2 separate regions of the Homo sapiens genome follow, and region 1 is linked to region 2. The links are contacts of gene promoters, found by promoter capture Hi-C in human tissues and cell types (Jung and others, 2019). All regions are on one chromosome and are shown on one strand. Each heading gives the region's core, a stretch centred on a gene start or on the middle of the fragment in contact. The rest is flanking DNA. Distances are from core to core; before and after follow the strand shown. Region 1 overlaps RYR3 (ryanodine receptor 3). Region 2 holds the start of RYR3 (ryanodine receptor 3).

What was found. Contacts are between HindIII fragments. The study calls those that stand out against the background at their distance.
Region 1: a fragment that was not itself captured here is called in contact with the fragment with the promoter of RYR3 in region 2 in 3 of the 25 tissues and cell types used here (aorta, heart left ventricle and hippocampus).

Annotation. Positions count from the first base shown.
Region 1 is chr15:33,419,070-33,424,514 of GRCh38, forward strand. The region is part of intron 1 of RYR3 (ryanodine receptor 3); the gene reads left to right. Among named protein-coding and RNA genes, the nearest start is that of RYR3, 110 kb to the left of the region's middle. The HindIII fragment of the contact is 4,994 bases long and covers 629-5,445 here.
Region 2 is chr15:33,308,022-33,313,117 of GRCh38, forward strand. It overlaps RYR3 (ryanodine receptor 3), which reads left to right and starts at 2,946. Exons shown (of 104, transcript NM_001036.6): 1 at 2,946-3,075. The coding sequence starts at 3,025. It overlaps RYR3-DT (RYR3 divergent transcript), which reads right to left and starts at 2,638. Exons shown (of 3, transcript NR_120327.1): 1 at 2,557-2,638. RefSeq lists enhancers at 3,167-3,678, 3,679-4,188. The HindIII fragment of the contact is 9,811 bases long and covers 1-5,096 here.

The sequences.
Region 1 (5,445 bases), core at 1,876-4,375, 110 kb after region 2:
TAAGCCTTTGGGCTGGGGAGCAGGACCAAGTAGAAAGAAAGAGATTAGAGATATAAAAGCGAGGGAATAATGAATGGGAAAAGCTTCCTGAGGAAGCCTGGGCAGGGACTGAGAAGCAAGAATTATTAGGCAAAGGAGAATCAGGTAAATTTGAAAAAGCCACTGTGAGAAACTGAGATTGCTGAAACCCTCAGTTCTGCCTCTTTTAGTAATAGAGGCCAAGCACATTGAAATTCTTCAACCAAATCATTTTAGAGGTGTCAGTCCAGTTCCTACTTGCAGTTGACTTTCGGGAAGGGATGGGAAATCCATTTCAGGTGGAAAAGTTGGCTTTTGGAGGTGCATTGTGTGCCAGGAAGTAATCAGTCAGACGTTAGACTCTGTTGCCTCTAATCGTAAACTTTTGGCTCCTGTCCTTCCTTCCTTCCATCTATCATTCATTTATTTTTAATCTGTATGCTTTCATTTGGAACTTAGTTTGAAAAGATGTAAGGAAAGTACCTTTCTGCTGACAGGCTCTGTCAAACCTAAGGCACAAATAGTACCTTTATTTGACAGTGTGAGCACATAAAATTCTCACGTTTTAGGGGCTTCATTTTCTTTATCTCTAAAACTTTGCATTCGTTTGGATTATTGCTGAGGCTCCTTTTAATTTTAAAATTCCATGGTAGTATGGTACCAACTTGAATTTGTGCCCACTTACAAGACGTGAAGCAGAAGGAAAAAGTGATGCAGTGTGTACTCATCAGTGAGGGCGCTGGTGTTGATGTACTACATATGTATAAAATCCCCATGTAACTTTACCAGGCATCTGCAGTACAAGGACATTTTGCCTGCATAAGCAGCGTATGCTTCAGCTCAGAATATATGCCAAGCACACTTGAGAACTTTCGTATTTTGCAGCTGAAGTACAACACAGCTGGCCTCCTAAATGATTTAGAGTCTTCCTCTCCACCAGCAGAATTAAAAACTAAGACTGTTATGATGCCTCTAAGAGAACAGAGATGCAACCTATAATTATGAATTTATCAGACAATAGGTGACTTTCCACAGCAATTCTTAATGTGTTACCATAATCACACTTTCTCCTTTGGAGAATCAAGCCTTGTTTTAAGAATTTGCATTGCATAGAGAGTGGGAGAGGGGAAATGGATGTGTTGGGCATCCAGCAAAGCTTAAAAAGAAAATATAATTGGGTTCCTCCTTATCTGCAGCAAAGCAACCAACAGAAGAATCAGAATGTCAGGGGTTTGAGTGTTTAGCAGGTGACGATGGGGTCTCAAGCCCAGGGCCTGTTTATAAGTCCCACAAAACATAATACATTTGTTTGTGATGTTACTTGTAAGTTGATTAATATTTTTATATTGACATAGAAGAGCAAGGTGAATCTGCTGGATTTCTTGTAGACCATTCCATTCAGAGTGGAGGTACCTTCATGTTGTGTCTTATTTGTTCTTGCAACATCCTGATGAGGTAGAAATCTATCCTTATTTTGCAGACGAAGTTAAGGCACAAGAAGTCAGTTTCAGCAAAGCAAGTCAGGGACAGATGGAGCACTAGAATCAGATCTCTAAATTTGCAGCATGTTCTTTTCCTTCGATTTTTTTTTTAAAACAATCTCACAAATTTTAAAAACTGAGCTGCTGTTTATTTGTCTAGTTCTTTGCCTACCTTATAAGAAAGGAAGCTGTTGCTTCTGATAAGGCCCCTTGATGAAATATGCAGATATGGAAGTAGGAAAGCAAAAATAATCTAGATCAGAACCTACTGTTGGTAAAATGAAATCCCACCATGTCCATTACCTACCTGCTGTGATGGTAAGCAGTCATTCTGCAGGCATTTTTGAGTACCTGCCCTGTACCATGCAGTGTGCTGGAGACTGAGGAGGTGTGCCTAAATTTTTCTTGGGGGTCTTGCTTCTTTAGGGAAAATTACCTTACAAAGATGACTGAGTCCTGAATGGGTTATCCAGGCCAAAAAGGTCAATTTGGGGAGCCATGAGAGGAGGGATTTCACTTACTATTCATTCATTCTTTCTGTAGTAAAGGCCTGGAACTAAGAAAGATCCTGGTGAATTGGAGGAGAAACGGAATGAAGCTGAATTTTAGATTTCAAAGGGGTGCATAAGGAGACCAGAGAGAGAGGCAGAGGACAGATATTAGAAGATGTCATTGATTGTGTAAGGTATTTAGAAGGACCTCATGCAAGGGAGTTATCTAATTAGAGCTGCTTTTGCAATGAGTCTGAGCCTAGAGGTAGGTTGAAAGGAGACAAGACTAAAGACACAGAGATCAATTTGGAGTTGTTGTATGAATCCAGGTGAAAAACCAAGGCCTGGACTAGGATAACGACATTGAGGATGGAAGTAATCTAATCTGTATGGTTTGGGAAAGGTTATAGGGGCTTGGTGAGAATCGGATGTGGACAATAAAAAGGCGAAGGAAGCCTCTAGGATGATGTCTAGGTTTCTGGTTCCCAAACAAAGGTAGATGGTGTGAAATAAGGAATGCTGGCAGAGGAGGGGTTTTTGAAAGATCAGTAGGAGACAATGAGCTTACTCTTAGACCTCTAAGAGTAATAATCAAATAACCTAGGTCATGCTGATGAGGCCCTAATTCATAGTGACCAAACTCACAGGAGTTTATAAATCTGAGTATTATTCTGTGAATTATTATTTAGAAGCATTTATTTCCGATGACTGGAAAATCCCCTATTTATATCAGTTCCATCTGTTAGGTAGAACTTCAGAGTAACCCAATTGTCAGATGTAGAAGCAGAACAAAGAAAAACGGATGAATTTTAAAAGAGGTTTAATTTAGTCCCATAAAATGTGGAAGACCTGCTTGGAAACAGACATATTTAGATAAGAATAATCAAATTACTCATTTTTTGAGGTTGGTAGTATTGGGTGATTACTAACATTTTTACTCTTCACCTTAAGATTTTGCTTCCTTCACTGCAGTGCTACTTCAGTTCATTATTATAATTGAACAATTCTGTTTCACATGGAGCACATTTTCAATAAACTCCTTCCCACTTGCCTTCTCAGAACTTCCTCAGGTTCCAGTTTGTGTGGATAGTCTCACTGTGGGGGTGATCCTTTGAGGCTTTTCTGACTTTGATGGTTTTTTTGTTTTTGTTTTATTACTTGACACCTGGTATTCATACTTAAACTTGGTGTCCACTGAAGGACAATGAGGCAGCAGCAGTGAGTGACTTCATCTTAGAATACAGGTGATCAGAATCTTTACTCCCCAGCTGAGTGCTGGGCTTAGTCTCTTGCTCATTTATTTAAAAACCATTTATGGAATACTAGTCCTTGTAGAGAAATATGGAATGGCATATTTCCTGTTCTTAATAAAGTAACAGTGTAGTAGAATACAGACATGCAAATGAGGAATTGGAATATTGTGATTGCCATTGCAGAGGGATAAATCAAGGTAATGGGCCATGGGTAAAGGAGCTTCAGAAGTGTGGGGAAGGCTTGATCATGGATTCATTAGGCTAGATGATAAGAGTTGGGGTAGGGGTGGTATGTGAGCCCTTTCTAAATACACAGAACTGCGTGGGCAAGCAGAGAGAGAGAGGAGAGAACCTCGCACATCCTGGGACTCTTCTGTATCGTGGGGCCATGAATTTATAGATAGCAGAGGTAGTATGAGAGATGAACCTGGGCTTGGACAGGTAAGTAGGAACCAGATCAGCAGAGGCCTTGTATCCCCTGTAAAACAGTTTAAATATTAGCCTGCAGAAAGCCATTGAATTGGTTTGAATAATATATTTTAAAGGCATCTAGTTCTAAGCATATTTGCATTTGACATAGACCTAAAGACAAGACAAGGTTGCATTTATTCCCTCTTGTAGTAGTTGAGAAAACTTTGCATATTAGTGTTTTTATTTTGCTTCAAGGGAGTTTAAATTGTAACATATATATAACATTGAGTTTGCCATTTTAACAAGTTTTAATTTTAATGGTTAAAATTCAGTGGTAATAAGTACTTACACAATGTTTTACAACCATCACCACTATTCCCAAAACATCTCCATTACCACAAATAGAGACTTTGCAACCATTAAGCAATAACTCTCCATCCCTGCCTCCAGCCCCTGGTAATCTCAAATCTACCTTCTGTGTCTATGGATTTGCCTATTCTAGAAATTTCATATAATTGAAATTATATAATATTTGTCTTTCTGTGTCTGACTTATTTCACTTAACAAAATGTTTCCAGAGTTTATCCATGTTGTAGTATGTATCAGAACTTCATTCCTTTTTTATAGCTGAATAAAATTCAATTGTATGTATAGACTGTATTTTGTTTATCCATTTATCTGTTGACAGACACTTTGATTGTTTCCACCTTAGGTTATTGTGAATTGGCCTGTAAGCATCTGTTTGAGTTCCTGCTTTCAGTTCCTTTGGATATATACCTAGAAGTGGAGTTTCTGGGTCACATGGTAATTCTACATTTAACTTTTTGAGGACCCACCAAACTGTTTTCCACTGTTTACCATTTTACACTTCCACCAGCAATGTACGAGGATTCTGATTTCTCCACATCTTTATCAACATTTATTATTTTCCAGGTTTTTTTTTTAATATTGTCATAGCCATCCTAGTGGGTGTGAAGTAGAATCTCATTGTGCTCTTATGCACCCTGGATTTGGAATATGCAAAAATATTTTGTAGTGAGTAATAAGCTTTGAACACATTTTTGTTCATGAGGTTTCTTAAGTGTTCCTATTTTTGCCATAGAAAATAATTGATTATAGACTTTTATTTCCAAGTTAAGGCTTGTCAGTTGAAGCATTCTTCTAAAAATTTTAAAGTAAGAAAACCCGTTGCTCTGAAATATCCTCCAATGCACCCAGGATCAGTTTGCTAAACGGCAGCTCTTGGCCATGTCAATATGCCTTGCTAGTACTCTTGGTGAACTCTCCTTGCCCTGGTTCAGATGTCCCTAGTCTCTGGGCTAGACTAGTACAGTGGCTTGCAAACTGTTCCCTCATTTCCTGATCTCCTCTTTTTCTCATTCCTCCTAAATACTGCAGGCAGTACAGCATAGTGCTTAAGTGCACAGGCATCAGAATGAGAACCTGGTCTGAGTCCCAGCTCTGCCACTACTAGCCATGACACTTCAGACAAGTCAGTTAATCTCAGTGAACACCTGTTTCTTTACCTATAAAAGAGGACAACATTGCCTACCCAACAGGGCTATTGTGAAGACAAGACAGGTCAAGCCCTTAGTACATTGCTTGGCACATAGACAAATGGGGTTAGTTGGGGTGCTATTAATACTGCCTGCAGAGTTATTTTTCTAAAAACCTGATTATGGAACTTCTCTGCTTGAGCCACTTCAAATTTCTGTTTTCTCAAAACAAACTTCAAACTGTTTGGTACTTTGTAAGAGGCCCTTTGCAGCGTAGGTCGCTAGCCTTGTCTGC
Region 2 (5,096 bases), core at 1,696-4,195:
GTCTGAAACAACAGCCTGAGACTCTTTTATACGCTGAGCTCCAGAACAATCTTAGATTTTGATAATTAAACAGCTTACTTTTGGGAACTCTAAAGGAACACAAAGACCATCAGGAATCCAAGTGGATGCACCAATGGTGTTACAGAACTCCATTCTTACTTCTTTTGTGGTAGGGTTATTTGACTGATGCGGGAGGTGGTGTCCCAGATTACATATCTGTATTTCAGTAAAGTATGTAAGAAAGGCATTTATAGTAGCCCTATGAACAAGAAGAAATTTGGGCTGCAAAATAATATATTTATGTAGGTTATTTTTTAATTATAACTTTTATTTTAGGTTCAAGGGTACATATGTAGGTTTGTTACATAAGTAAACTGCATGTCATGGAGGTTTGGTGTACAGATTATTTTGTCACGCAGGTAATAAGCATAGTACTCAATAGGTATTATTTTTCTGACTTAGGTAAGTTCTTGATCATTAAATAAGCATAATCAAAAGTATGAAAGTTAATCCAACAGGGCCTCTATTAGTATTCTGAAGGTATGCCATATTAAGCATAATCAAAAGTATGAAAGTTAATCCAAGAGGGCCTCTATTAGTATTCTGAAGGTATGCCATATCACAGGTTAGTAATAATTAGCACCTTGCCTGGCATACTCTAGCTTTAAAAATACCTTAAAGGTTCACATATAGAGACATCAATACATGATTGGGTATTACAATTGGAAGGAACACACACACACCCACCCACACACACACACACACACACACATATTTTTGAGACAGAGTCTCGCTCTTGTTGCCCAGGCTGGAGTGCAATGGCATGATCTCGGCTCACGGCAATCTTCACCTCCCGGGTTCAAGCGATTCTCCTGCCTCAGCCTCCCAAGTAGCTGGGATTACAGGCATGCACCACCACGACCGGCTAATTTTGTATTTTTTTTTTTTTTTTAGTAGAAATGGGGTTTCTCCATGTTGGTCAGGCTGGTCTCGAACTGCCGACCTCAGGTGATCCACCCGCCTTGGCCTCCCAAAGTGTTGAGATTATAGGCGTGAGCCACCGTGCCCACAGGTACTCAAGCACTTGCATGTGATCAAGATGGAGAAGAGCTGACTTTTGCAGTTCACGTGGGAGGAAAAAAGTAAATCTAGAAATTCTAGTTAACTCCAAACACAGTGAGTGTCATTAGTGTTTCTCCAGAAGCCAATCCAATATTAGGCTGCACATAAAGACTGTCCAAAACAAGGACGGAGAGCACAACAATTCAGGAAGAAGACCACCTGGAATGCTCATATGGCCATCAAAGATGACATAGGCTCTGGAAACTATACTACAGGGAAAGTTGGGGCTAAGAAGAACCTTGAGCCAGGAGAAGAAAAGAGTGGATGGTGGGCCATAGAGGCAAGCATGGCAGATGCCTTCTAAGAGGTGAAGGGCCACAATGTACAGATGGTTTGACTTATTCTAGGCGGGTTTCAGAAGAGGCACAAGGCCCAAGCTGAAGCCTAGAAGGTAGCAGTTTGAGTACAATACAAGAAAAAAACATTTTTCTTTGCATTTCTGATGTTCATCAGAACATATGGGACGGAAGCTCAGGAAAGAGATCTTAAGGTAGCATCAAGAGATAGATGTCGTCCACAAGGAGGCGGTATATGAAGCTGTGAAATGGCTTGGGGTTTCCAGTGTCTTCCACCATCATCAGCCCAGAATTACCACCTTCCCAGTTGCACTTCCTCCTAAATCTACATCTCTGGTGCCTTTTGCCTTGAACAGTCTCTTGCCTTGGAGCTTCTCGGCCATCAAACAGAAGGGGGCACCCTGCACCGTCAGTCAAGGCAAGGACCAATCTGGCAATCCCCAACCATGGAAAAGGACCTAAGGCTGGGTGGGATGTAGGAGCCTTCCAGGACCTGGAAGGGAGCCTCCTGTAACTACTCTCTACTCCCTTTAGAGTCCACAGGGCTGGAACTCTAAATGCAGAATAAGGTTAGGGGTGGGCAGAGAGGAAGGGTTGTGATGCCACCTGACTTCCAAATTGAGGGTGGCACAGGATCCCCCAGAAGCTCCCTGGGGTACAGAAGTCACAGCAACCCTGGACAATCCAGGGGTTTGGTAAAGTGTACTTACCAATTTTGAAGAGGGGAAGGGGTTCTCTTAAGGTGTAGAAAGGACTATCCAGGGAGTTGCAAACTTTGTTGTAAGTGGACAATCACCCTCGCTCCTCACTGCACCGTCTTCTCCTTGCCCAACAATGCACGCGGGTCCTAGCAAGGTATTCGAGTCCAGATCTCTCTCTCTCTCTCTCTCTCTCTCTCTGTCTCTGTCTCTCTCTCTTTCCTCTCTCTGTCTCTCTGTCTCTGTCTCTCTCTTTCCTCTCTCTCTCTCTCTGTCTCTGTCTCTCTCTTTCCTCTCTCTCTCTCTCTATCTCTGTCACACACACACACACACACACACACACACACACACACACACAGGCAAAGTGGGCAAAGCGGGCAAAGCGAGCAAAGCGAGAGGGTTGGTACCCAGTCTGGGCGCGCTGGAGCTAAGCAACTGGCCTTTGTTTGTGAATTGGAGCAGTTTAGGGGACATCCTCCGGTCGCCGCGGGGCGCGCGCCTCCGCTGAGTGTGCGGTGCGGTACCCAGCGGTGCGGGGGAGGCTCCACCGCGCCAGCCCAGGGCCCCCGCACCGCCCCCGCCAGCTCGACGCGCCCAGCGTTGCGCTCTCCACGGAGCGGGCGGCCGCAGCGCACTTGGCTGGGGCGAGAGGCGAGAGGGGTGGGCGGACTGCTTGGTTGGCGTTGGCGCTCTGCAGTGCAGTGGAGTGTTAGCCCAGCTCCCTATATGGTCGGGGATTAGCTTGGCGCTGCTGAGGCTGAGGCTGAGCCAGGAGCTGGAGGAGGAGGTGGAGGACGAGGACGAAAAGGAGGAGGAGAAAGAGCGCAGCAGCAGTCAGCGCACGCCGAGCGGCTGCCGGGGGAAGCAGAGGCGCCGGAGGCTGGGGCACCGCCGACGCCTCGGGAGCCATGGCCGAAGGGGGAGAAGGAGGCGAGGACGAGATCCAGTTTCTGAGGACTGTGAGTCTCCGCGGCGGGGGCGAGGCCGTGGGCAGGTGGGGAGGAGCGCGGAGCGCGGCGAGGAGGGGCTGGCTGCGCTGCGCCGCGGTGCCGGGTGCCCGGTGCCGGGCGCTTTCTCCGCACCCGCGGGCTGCAGAGGCGGACCGGCCACCTACCCGCGGGGCCGCGAGGGGCTGCGTGGGAAGGGGCACCATCTCCTGCCTCTCCCTTGTTCCCCTACCGCCACCCCTGCCCCAGGCCCTCCACCTAGGACCGCTCGCTCTCCAGGCAACTTGCTACTTGGTCTGAAACCCTTGATGCCCAAACTTCAGCCGGGGTTTGTTCGCGGTTGTCCTGACCCATAAGATCGGCGTTGGAAGCCCTCGCCCCGGGGTCGGCCCTCTGACACCTCCATACTCCACCCCAGCCCCATTCCTCTTCCAGGGCGCCCCCACGCACAGGGGAACCTCCGGGAAGGAGCCAGCGGGGCAGGGGGGAGTGTGGGGAGCCGGGTCGGAGAAGCGGGCGCAGGCGCTTGGTCCTAGCCCTGGGATCGCTCGGAGGGGAATTCACCCAGCGCTGCCCCTCTCGTGTTAAGCCCCACGCCGGCAACTGCTGCTGGAGCCTGACTTGACTGACTGCCTGTCGTGTGTTCGAGAGCTGTGGCTTCTGCTCCTGGCTCCCGCGAGCCCCGCAGGACAGGGAAACCCCAGTCAGTGGCTCCGCGTCACTCAGGTCCCCTCCTTGACACCTGAGGGCGCTGCTCCGTCCCAGATTTGGGGGTGAGGGGGCGAAGTCTGTTGCAGCCACACCAGCCTTGCCCTGTAGGAGATAATACAAAGACTTTCAGGGTGGACGGCCACCCGGAGGGGTGGGGGCATTGGGGATGCATCCTAGCGCTGACTTCAGCCAAGTGACCTTGAGCAAGTCGCATAATCCGCCCTACTCAGCCTCAGTTTCCTCATGTGTAAAATAAAATGTAACCAGCGTTTCAGGGTGATAAGGATTAAACGTTATCGTGAATGTCATAATGTTTTGTAAACGGCAAATCGCTCTGTAAATCTTAGGTAATTTTATATGCGCTGCCTTGCTCTCAGGAATTAGAATGAAATTCTTTCTTTCCCTCTCTCACTTCCCTTTAAGGGTGCCCCCTTCTCCATGACCTGGTCTTCGAAGATCACAACTTACCTCTTGTCCATCTTTTGAACCACTCTCCTCCTGTTGAAGCGCTTCCTTCCAATTTACTTCAGTTTCTCTTCCAAACATGGTTCTTTTGTCAAAGCTGGGACTTGGGTCTTATTTGGGGGGGGTATGGAAGTACCTATCGCCCTGCTGGTACTACTGAGAGGCTAGAGTATTCATCTCTTCATCCTTCGTCTGACCTGCAGACCCAGACTCCATTCTCATCTCTCACACTGCACACAAGATGGCCCCACAGTTGCAACTCATGACAACCCTATTGTTATAAAGCTGCCTGCTCCCCTCAAAGCTCCATCAAATCCTTTGGTTGTCCCTCTGACAGGTGTCTTTAGTAGTGGATGGGTGGCAGCTCAGGTTTTTTCTGCCTTGTGTCCTCCATGATCAGTCATTTCTTCTCCTTATTATTAATGATCTTCTAGGCGTTATTGCTTGAAAAAATTATCTTCAGACAGGGTCAGTGTTGAATAGATGTCCCAGGGAGTTGAGGCTTAGGAAGGTGGTAGTTGTTGTGAGATCCTTATGCTTTTCTCTTGGCTTCTGAGCCATCTTCCCTGACTTTTCCTCTCCATCTGGCATTGTAAGTGTTTTTTGTTTTTGTTTGTTTTTGGTACACCTGTAGCCAAGGTTTACTATAGTAGTGGTTCTTAAGTTTTGTGTCCTGGGCTTCCTGCCCTAGAGATCAGAGCTGGCAGACCTCTTTTAAAGTACACCCATGACAGCCTGTGGGGTTCAAGGACCCAGGTTCAGAGCCCCTGTTGCAGAGAACTGCATACCGGTTATGGCTTAGAGCGAGTGATGGTGGTAACCATGGGGGCAGTGACTCCAAATGTGGCGTTATTGGT